Linked DNA regions of Homo sapiens: all the other regions are linked to region 2. The links are contacts of gene promoters, found by promoter capture Hi-C in blood cells and fetal thymus (Javierre and others, 2016). All regions are on one chromosome and are shown on one strand. Each heading gives the region's core, a stretch centred on a gene start or on the middle of the fragment in contact. The rest is flanking DNA. Distances are from core to core; before and after follow the strand shown.

The links. Contacts are between HindIII fragments. The CHiCAGO score rates a contact against its expected background, and 5 or more counts as called.
Region 1: a fragment that was not itself captured here is called in contact with the fragment with the promoter of FRMD7 in region 2 in 1 of 17 cell types (neutrophils); the score reaches 5.1 in neutrophils.
Region 3: a contact is called between a fragment that was not itself captured here and the fragment with the promoter of FRMD7 in region 2, in 10 of 17 cell types (non-activated CD4 T cells, naive B cells, naive CD4 T cells and 7 more). The highest score is 8.1, in non-activated CD4 T cells.

Annotation. Positions count from the first base shown.
Region 1 is chrX:131,845,837-131,848,556 of GRCh38, forward strand. No RefSeq gene overlaps it. Among named protein-coding and RNA genes, the nearest start is that of FIRRE, 17 kb to the left of the region's middle. The HindIII fragment of the contact is 6,188 bases long and covers 1-2,720 here.
Region 2 is chrX:132,126,763-132,129,546 of GRCh38, forward strand. It overlaps FRMD7 (FERM domain containing 7), which reads right to left and starts at 1,258. Exons shown (of 12, transcript NM_194277.3): 1 at 1,026-1,258. The coding sequence starts at 1,082. The HindIII fragment of the contact is 2,038 bases long and covers 1-1,451 here.
Region 3 is chrX:132,618,913-132,621,622 of GRCh38, forward strand. No RefSeq gene overlaps it. Among named protein-coding and RNA genes, the nearest start is that of HS6ST2-AS1, 47 kb to the right of the region's middle. The HindIII fragment of the contact is 2,069 bases long and covers 390-2,458 here.

The DNA.
Region 1 (2,720 bases), core at 20-2,519, 280 kb before region 2:
ATCTTTTGTTCTATTTACCTAATAATCCAGGGAATCCCAAGCCTTAAAATTTAAGATCGTCCTCAACTGAGAATAACCCCAATAACTTGGCAGAGGCAAATGGAAATCTTCTCTGGAGGAAAGTGACTTCATCCTATCCTAAAGTCATTGCTACAGATAACAAAGTATGATGACAAAAATAACCAGGTCCATAAACAAACAAGACACAATGGGCAAGAACAGGCAGAATAATAGGCAAAAAAAGGCACAAAATTTCAGTTAATGGAATTATTAAGACACAGACCATAAAACAACTATGCTTACAATGTTTAAAAACATGAAAAAGGCAATCCCACTTCTAGTCACTCTGGAGAAAGAGACCAATTTGCCCTCATGCTTGAAATAACCAAAAACTACAAATATATGAAACAACAGTTATTGAGTTCCTGGATATCAGGTTACAAGGGATAATAACCCTTGGATATGGGCAGCAGATAATGTAATACCAACAAATATGTCAGCTTACTGACTTAAAATAGTTTCTAGGTTTCCAATGAGAACACATGGACATAGGGAGAGGAACAACATACACTGGGGCCTATGGGCAGGTGGGGTGGGGAGAGGGAGAGCATTAGGAAAAATAGTTAATGCTTGCTTGGCTTAATACCTAGGTGATGGGATGATCTGTGCAGCAAACCACCATGGCACACATTTACCTATGTAACAAACCTGCACATCCTGCACATGTACTCCTGAACTAAAAATAAAAAATAAATAAATAAAATAACAATTCTAACTAGTTTCCAAAAAGGTGAGGTTAAGAATATAAGACCCATTTTCCATGACCCCAGACTTCAAAATGTAGTATTTAAAAGAACTTCCACTTCATTTTTTTTTTTTTTTTTTTTGAGACAGAGTCTCGCTCTGTTGCCCAGGCTGGAGTGCAGTGGCACCATCTTGGCTCATTGCAACCTCCGCCTCCTGAGTTCAACTGATTCTCCTGTCTCAGCCTCCTGAGTAGCTGGGATTACCGGTGCGTGCCACCACGCCCAGCTAATTTTTGTATTATTATTATTTTTTTTTTAGTAAAGATGGGGTTTCACCATATTGGACAGGCTGGTCTTGAACTCCTGACCTCAAGTGATCCACCTGCCTCTGCCTCCCAAAGTGCTGGGATTACAGGCATGAACCACCACACCTGGCCAAAATTACAAACTTTGAAATAACATAGAAATCAAGGTAGAAACTCAAAGGGAAATTAGAAAATATTTTCAATGAAATGAAAATAAATTAACATGTCCAAATTTGTGGAATGTGACCAAATCAGTACGTAAGGGTAAATTTATAGCACTAAACCACCTATGTTACTAAAGACTACAGGCCTCAAATCCATGACCTCAGCTTCTAACTTAAGAATGAAAAAGATGAGCAAATTAAACTAAAGGTAAGCAGAAGGAAGGAAGTAATAAAAGTGGAGTTAAAGTGAAATAAAAAGAGAAAAACAATAGAGAAAAACCAGTAAAACAAAAAATTGATTCTTTAAGAAAATTAATAAAATTTTAAAACCTCCAATCAAAATAATTAGAAATAAAAGAGTGAAGGCCCCCAAAAACCTATATTAGGAATGAAAGAAAAGTCATCACCACAGATTATGTTTATTAAAAAATAAGAGGCCTGGTGCGGTGGCTCACGCCTGTAATCCCAACATTTTGGGAGGCTGAGGCTGGTGGATCACCTGAGGTTAGGGGTTCTAGACCAGCCTGTCCAACGTGGTGAAACCCTGCCTGTACTAAACATACAAAAATTAGCCGGGTGTGGTGGCGGACGCCTGTAATACCAGCTATTTGGGAGTCTGAGGCAAGAGAATTGCTTGAACCCGGGAGGCTGAGGTTGCAGTGAGCCGAGATCGTGCCACTGCACTCCAGCCTGGGCAACAAGAGTGAGACTCCATAAAAAAAAATTAATATTATTAACAACTTTATTTCATATCATATAGTTAAAAATTTAAATGAAATCGATAAATTCTTTGAAAGACACAAGCACCACAAACAAGGAAAACTCTCCCAAGAATGCATAGTCCTGTATCTTATTTATTTTTATTTTTATTTTTATTATTTTTTTTGAGTCAGGCTCTCACTCTGTCGCCCAGACTGGAGTGCAGTGGTGCGATCTCGGCTCACCGCAACCTCCACCTCCCAGGCTCAAGCGATTTTCTTGCCTCAGCCTCCGGAGTAGCTGGGATTACAGGTGCTTGCCACTATTGCCGGGCTAATTTTTGTATTTTTAGTAGAGACGGGGTTTCACCATGTTGTCCAGGCTGGTCTCGAACTCCTGACCTCAGGTGATCCACCCACCTTACCCTCCCAAAGTGCTGGGATTACAGGCGTGAGCCACCATGCTCAGCCATGCATAGTCTTATATTTGTTCAAGAAGTTGAATTTGTAGTTTAAAGTGTTCCCACAAAGAAGACTCCAGACCCAAATAACTTCACTGTTGAACCCTACCAAACATTTCAGGAATAAATAATACCAATTCCAAATAAGTCAAGTGAAGAGGATAATTCCCAACTGATTCTATATGGGCAGCATCACCTTGAAACTAAAATATATGTGGTATTATTATAAGACATACTATTACAGGACAAGAAAATTAAAGATCAATATTGCTCATGAACATAGATGCAAAAATTCTAAACTTCTTTTTAGGAAATCTAATCCAACAAAATATGCAAAGGACAATAC
Region 2 (2,784 bases), core at 8-2,507:
AAAAACAAATCATTCAGGTCCGTGGAACTAGAAATGCCTTTTGCGCATAAAACTGAAAGGAAGAGACAGCAAAACAGCAGATGAAGACATGAAGTCATCACTCACAAAGCACATGATTCAAATAAAAATAAAATACTCATTGGAAAAATGGGCTACCCACACACACAACATCATGGCTGAGCCACAGCAGTTGTCAGTTTATGTATAAAAGAAAAAAACCAACATTTTGTATGAATTTCAGAGAAAATAAACTATTTGTCTCTTGTTAGTGGCTAATGTAAATATCAGAGCAAATAGCATTTTTGGTTCCAATAAAAATGTAGAACTTTTCAAAATGCTCATACATAAATCCTGACATCAAAATGTACATATCTTAAGATGTTGGAACATGAGCACCAAATGATGTGCTTAATACATTTGTTCTTTCTTGAAGAGATGAGGTATAATTGTATGCAATCATCTTGTAGCTAGGAATTTATTAAGAACTCTGAACTATAAGTACTAAATCAAACTAAATAGTCTCTTATCCTATTTTTCTCTCTCATACTTGTCATTCCTTCCTGAAGTTCTCATTACAACTACATAATTCTACCCCTTATAACCCATAGGTTTTCTTCAGAAAAGGAGGATAGCTTCCCCCACTCCTTTCCCTCAGAACAACAGTTTTCTCCCCACAAATGCTCATGGGGTGAGACCCACAGACATAATTTCAATGAACAACAATACCTTATTGGGTAAAAGAACTAGTTTATTGCTGCTTTACTTTTTGCAAATAGTTATCCTGTCTTTAAAATTTGCTATTGTTGTCCCTTGAGAAAAGACAACTTGTTCTAAGAGAAAGGTTAATGGAAAAATATGAACTACATTGTGATGTTAAATACAGATTATTTTTCCAAAGCTAAAAATCACAGTCCTCCTTCATTCAGTCCTAAAGAAGACATAACATTGCTCTCTAATGGGCTGTTCACAAATGACAATTATTGAATGAATAATAAAGGAATAATAGCAATGTGATTTCCACTTACATCAACCACAAAAATCTTCTGGGAATCATCCAAAAACTGCACTTTTAAATGTAGCATTCTCAGCGAGGCCGTTGGGCTGCAAGCAGGCTCAGAGTGCTGTGGGTGCTTTCTCCAGGAATTTCACTCCCAGCTGGATGTGGTGCACTCGGGCCCCCCCACCCCCAGCCAGGCATTCCCACTGTCAGCGGGGCACACTTCCGTTTGCTTGAAGTAATGCACACCCAAGGGCATTTGTGCTGCCAAGTGCAGGGGATCAATAGCATCTGGGCAGTCTCCTGTTTGGTCAATATCAAATCTAACTGGACTTCCTCTAGCCTTCTTAAACTCAGCTCCTTTCTTCAAAGAAAAATATAAAGAAAGCAAGCATTTGTGGTCCCTGGGGATTTTCTTTATTTCACAAGGGCACAATTTGAAAACCCTAGATCAAGCTTTAATAAACTGAGAATAGCCATTCTCAAAAGTAAAAAGATTCAAGTTAATCTCAAATTGTACTAGAAATTTCATGGCCAAGCTAGGAAGCATCTATCTATCTATCTATCTATCTATCTATCTATCTATCTATCTATCTATGCTTATATATATCTATATATAATTATATAGATATAATATATCCATATATAATTATATAGATATAATATATCCATATATAATTATATAGATATAATATATCCATATAATTGCTATTATATAGAAACATATATAATATAAAATTATGCATAATTTTAATTATCTGAATTCACATGATTTAGAAATAAAAACTATATAAAAAGGTATATAGAAAACTTCACTTCCACTCCTGTTCCCTCTTTTCTGTGTTCCCAATACACCCCTATTGGTAACCAATTTTTTTTCTTTCTATTCCCATAGAATTTATGTGCTTACATCTATAAAGAAATGAAACAAGGAATACAACTAAGGTCGAACCCCATCTCAGCTGTAAATAACATTCATGTATTCTTGGATAAATGAACTAATTAGGATAAAGAACGTTCTAATAAAACAGTCATCAAAGAATTACATTAATATCATTTTCATTATATAACAATAATTACGATGACATTTATTCTGGACTGAGATAACACTTAAGGCAAGAACTAAGAAAACTTACCTCCATTTGTATTTTTTGTTGACAAGAAGATAATGGGTGAATGATTAAAAGATGCCAAGCACAGTAGATTACATTACGATAGGATTCTTGGCTGAAAGTGGTATGAAAATATAGAAGAAGAAAAGCCAATTTAAAATGTTCAACTACTAAAGAACTAGCTCGTTTATTTTTATAAATGAATAAAGGGTGTCAAATTGTTGTGATATTTAAATTGTACCGGATATGTTTAAAATAGTGATGTAACAGTTTTTATTTTAAAATACCAATATTTATATGACACCAGCAAACACATACTTTGTCAAGTATTTAACTTCCCATGAAAAATTTTAGATGTCAACTTAGATGGGTGAGGGGACACATGATTTTTCAAAATACTTTTGGGGGTCACATGAGCAGAATACTTTGTGGACCACTGCTTTAAAACACTATTTCTCTAAGTACGGTTGAGGGACCAACTTACAGAATCACCTGGGAAGGGTGGCTGACTTTTTAAAAATGCCGATACCTGAACCCCATCCCCAAATTGGGTTGTTAGGTTTGGGGTGGACCCCAAATAGATCAATTTTCAACATGCACTCCAAGTGGCTCTCATGCAAACCATTTAAGAAGCACTACTTAAAAAATAAAAACTAGCATTTTACAGTATTATAG
Region 3 (2,710 bases), core at 174-2,673, 490 kb after region 2:
AGTACTGAGCAGGGAAAGAACCAATGTCCAAAGAACCTGAAAGAAGGCAGTTGCTTTGTGAATATTCCTCATTGGAAAAGAACCCGCTGTTAATTATTAATGAAGCCAGGAATGGTTTCCTAGCTTGGCAGTATCAGGAGCTCAAGGCCCTCCATTCCCCAGTGCTGTCCTGGAAGAAGTTTTTGCTATAGAAGAAAGCTCCAGTTTTAGCAAAGAAAACACCAGCAAAGCAAAGGCTTTGGAGGTAGACAAACCTGGGTGTGACACTCGGACCTGCCGCTTGCTAGTTATGTGGCTTGAGACACTCCTCCCTGAACCTCCATTTACTTTTCTGTATAATGGGGAGATAATAAAGTTTACCTGCAAGTGTTTTTAGAAAAATGAAATAAAGCTTCTTTCAGAGATACATACATAACAAAATATATACAGATGATGTCCGGGAGTTGCTTTAATATATTACAGATTGTAGGGAAATTAGTGAGGACACAGATTAAATTAGATTGGCTGAGTTGATAATTACTGAAGTTGAGTGATTGGGAAAGGAGGTTCATGATGCTGTTCTCCCTAGTTTTGCAGATAGAATCTTTCCATAATAAAATGTTTTAAATCATGAATAAGGTGAAGATACTGCACTCTGGATTTAGAACTAGGCTTGATTCTAAAGTATTAGGCAAGTTAATGAAGCTCTCCTGAGTCTCAGCATATTCCTCTGTAAAATGTGGGAAAGAATTTTTCCTGCCTCACTGGGTGGTTGTGAAGATTAAGTGAGGTGATGCAGACCAGGCACAGTGGCTCATGCCTGTAATCCTAGCACTTTGGGAGGCTAAGGCAGGAGGATTGCTTGGGCTCAGGAGTTTGAGACCAGCCTGGGCAACATGGTGAGACCCTCGTCTCTCCAAAAAAAAAAAAACAAACAAACAAAAAACAAAATGAGGTGATGCATAAAAAGGCTTAGTACACTGTCTGAACTATAATGTAATTTCCACAAATATTAACTGCCACTGCTGCTGTTATATGAAGGGCCAAGAAGAGCACCTGGCATACAGTACGCACTTAATAAATGGTATAGATCATCATCATTATAATTAGCATCAAGAGTCAGACTCTTCACACCTGGTCAGGATGGGCATATATTGGCATTGAAGTCTCCTGGCTGAATAAGAACTGTCTTCCCTTAGTGGTGTGGGGCTGTAATAACTGTTTCAGTGCCTGAAGTTCAGAAATTTCCATTCAAGAATAGGACCAACTAAGTAGCTTCAAGTTAAACTGTCAAAACCATCCTCCACAGAGCTTCTGGAGCAGGAGACAACTGGACATTCAAGAAGGCAGATTCAAGATTCAAGAAGGCAGGAGACAGCTGGAGATTCAACACCAGGTTGTTTCATTCATGGGGGGAGGGGGTTAGAGCAGGGCTCTTGGCCCCAGGAAAGGGATACAGCTGGGAATCACTTCCTTAATAAGTATTCTCTGACCTCCCTCCTGGCTTCCTGTTTCACTGGCCCTAACTCACAGTAAAGTGCTCAACACAGGTTTGTCAAATGAATGGGCTACAAGACAGAAATCAAGTTACCAGAAGCTGGACGCTAGATCAGCAAGCTAGAGCTAGGTAAATAAATGCTTCCAGGCCAGGGTTGGCAGCTCATGCCTGTAATCCCAGCACGTTGGGAAGCCAAGGTGGGAGGATCACTTGAGCCCGGGATTTTGAGACCAGCCTGGCCAACATAGTAAGACCCTGTCTCAACACAAAATAAAATTATCCAGGTGTGGTGGCTTGCCCCTGTGGTCCCAGCTACTTGGGAGGCTGAGGTGGGAGATTCTGATTCAGATCATCTGCAGTGCGGCCTAGAGAATCTGCATTTCTGAACCACATCAGGGAGGATTCTGAAGCCACAGGCTCATAGCTTCTGTTCTGAGAAAGTTTTAGGAAGATGAGCCCGGTGATCAAGAAAGAGGCTGAAGACAGAAGGATAGTTAAGAAGACATTGGGACCATCCAGGTGGGCTACATACAAACCTGCCTTAGAGTGGGAGTGCTGGGAATATGCCAAGGTCCTGGGAGTTTGGAGAAAGCATGTGGACACTGGGAAGGGATGGGAAACTGGACAACTTACTGATGCTTGTTAGTGCTTCTTAGGTCAAGCCATTTTTTTTTTTTTTTTGAGACAGGGTCTCGGTCTCTCTTTGTCACCCAGGCTGGAGTGCAGTGGCACAATCACAGCTCACTGCAACCTTGACCTCCCAGGTTTACATAATCCTCCTGACTCGGCCTCCTGAGTAGCTGAGACTACAGGCACACAATACCATGCCCAGCTAATTTTTATCTATATTGTAGAGAGAGGTTTCGCCATGTTACCTGGGCTGGTCTCGAACTCCTGGGTTCAAGTGATCCTCCCCACTCAGCCTCCCAAAGTATTGGAATTACAGGGATTACAGGCATGAGCCACAGTGCCCAGCCTTCAAGCTTATCCTTGATAAATGCTATTCATCTTAACTAATCAGTGTTCAGGCTCCTTATTTCAACTTCCTTCCTATGTGTTCAGCCTTGTGAAGCCAGAATCCATCTTTTTGACCGAATTCATAATGTCTTTGCCATATGGTCTCAAGGGCCTTGATGAACATGTAATCCTACTCTAGGTAGTTTCAGGGACAGAAGACCGCCTTCAGGACTGAGAAAAAAAAAAGCAATCTTGTGTTTTGGATGAATCCATGAA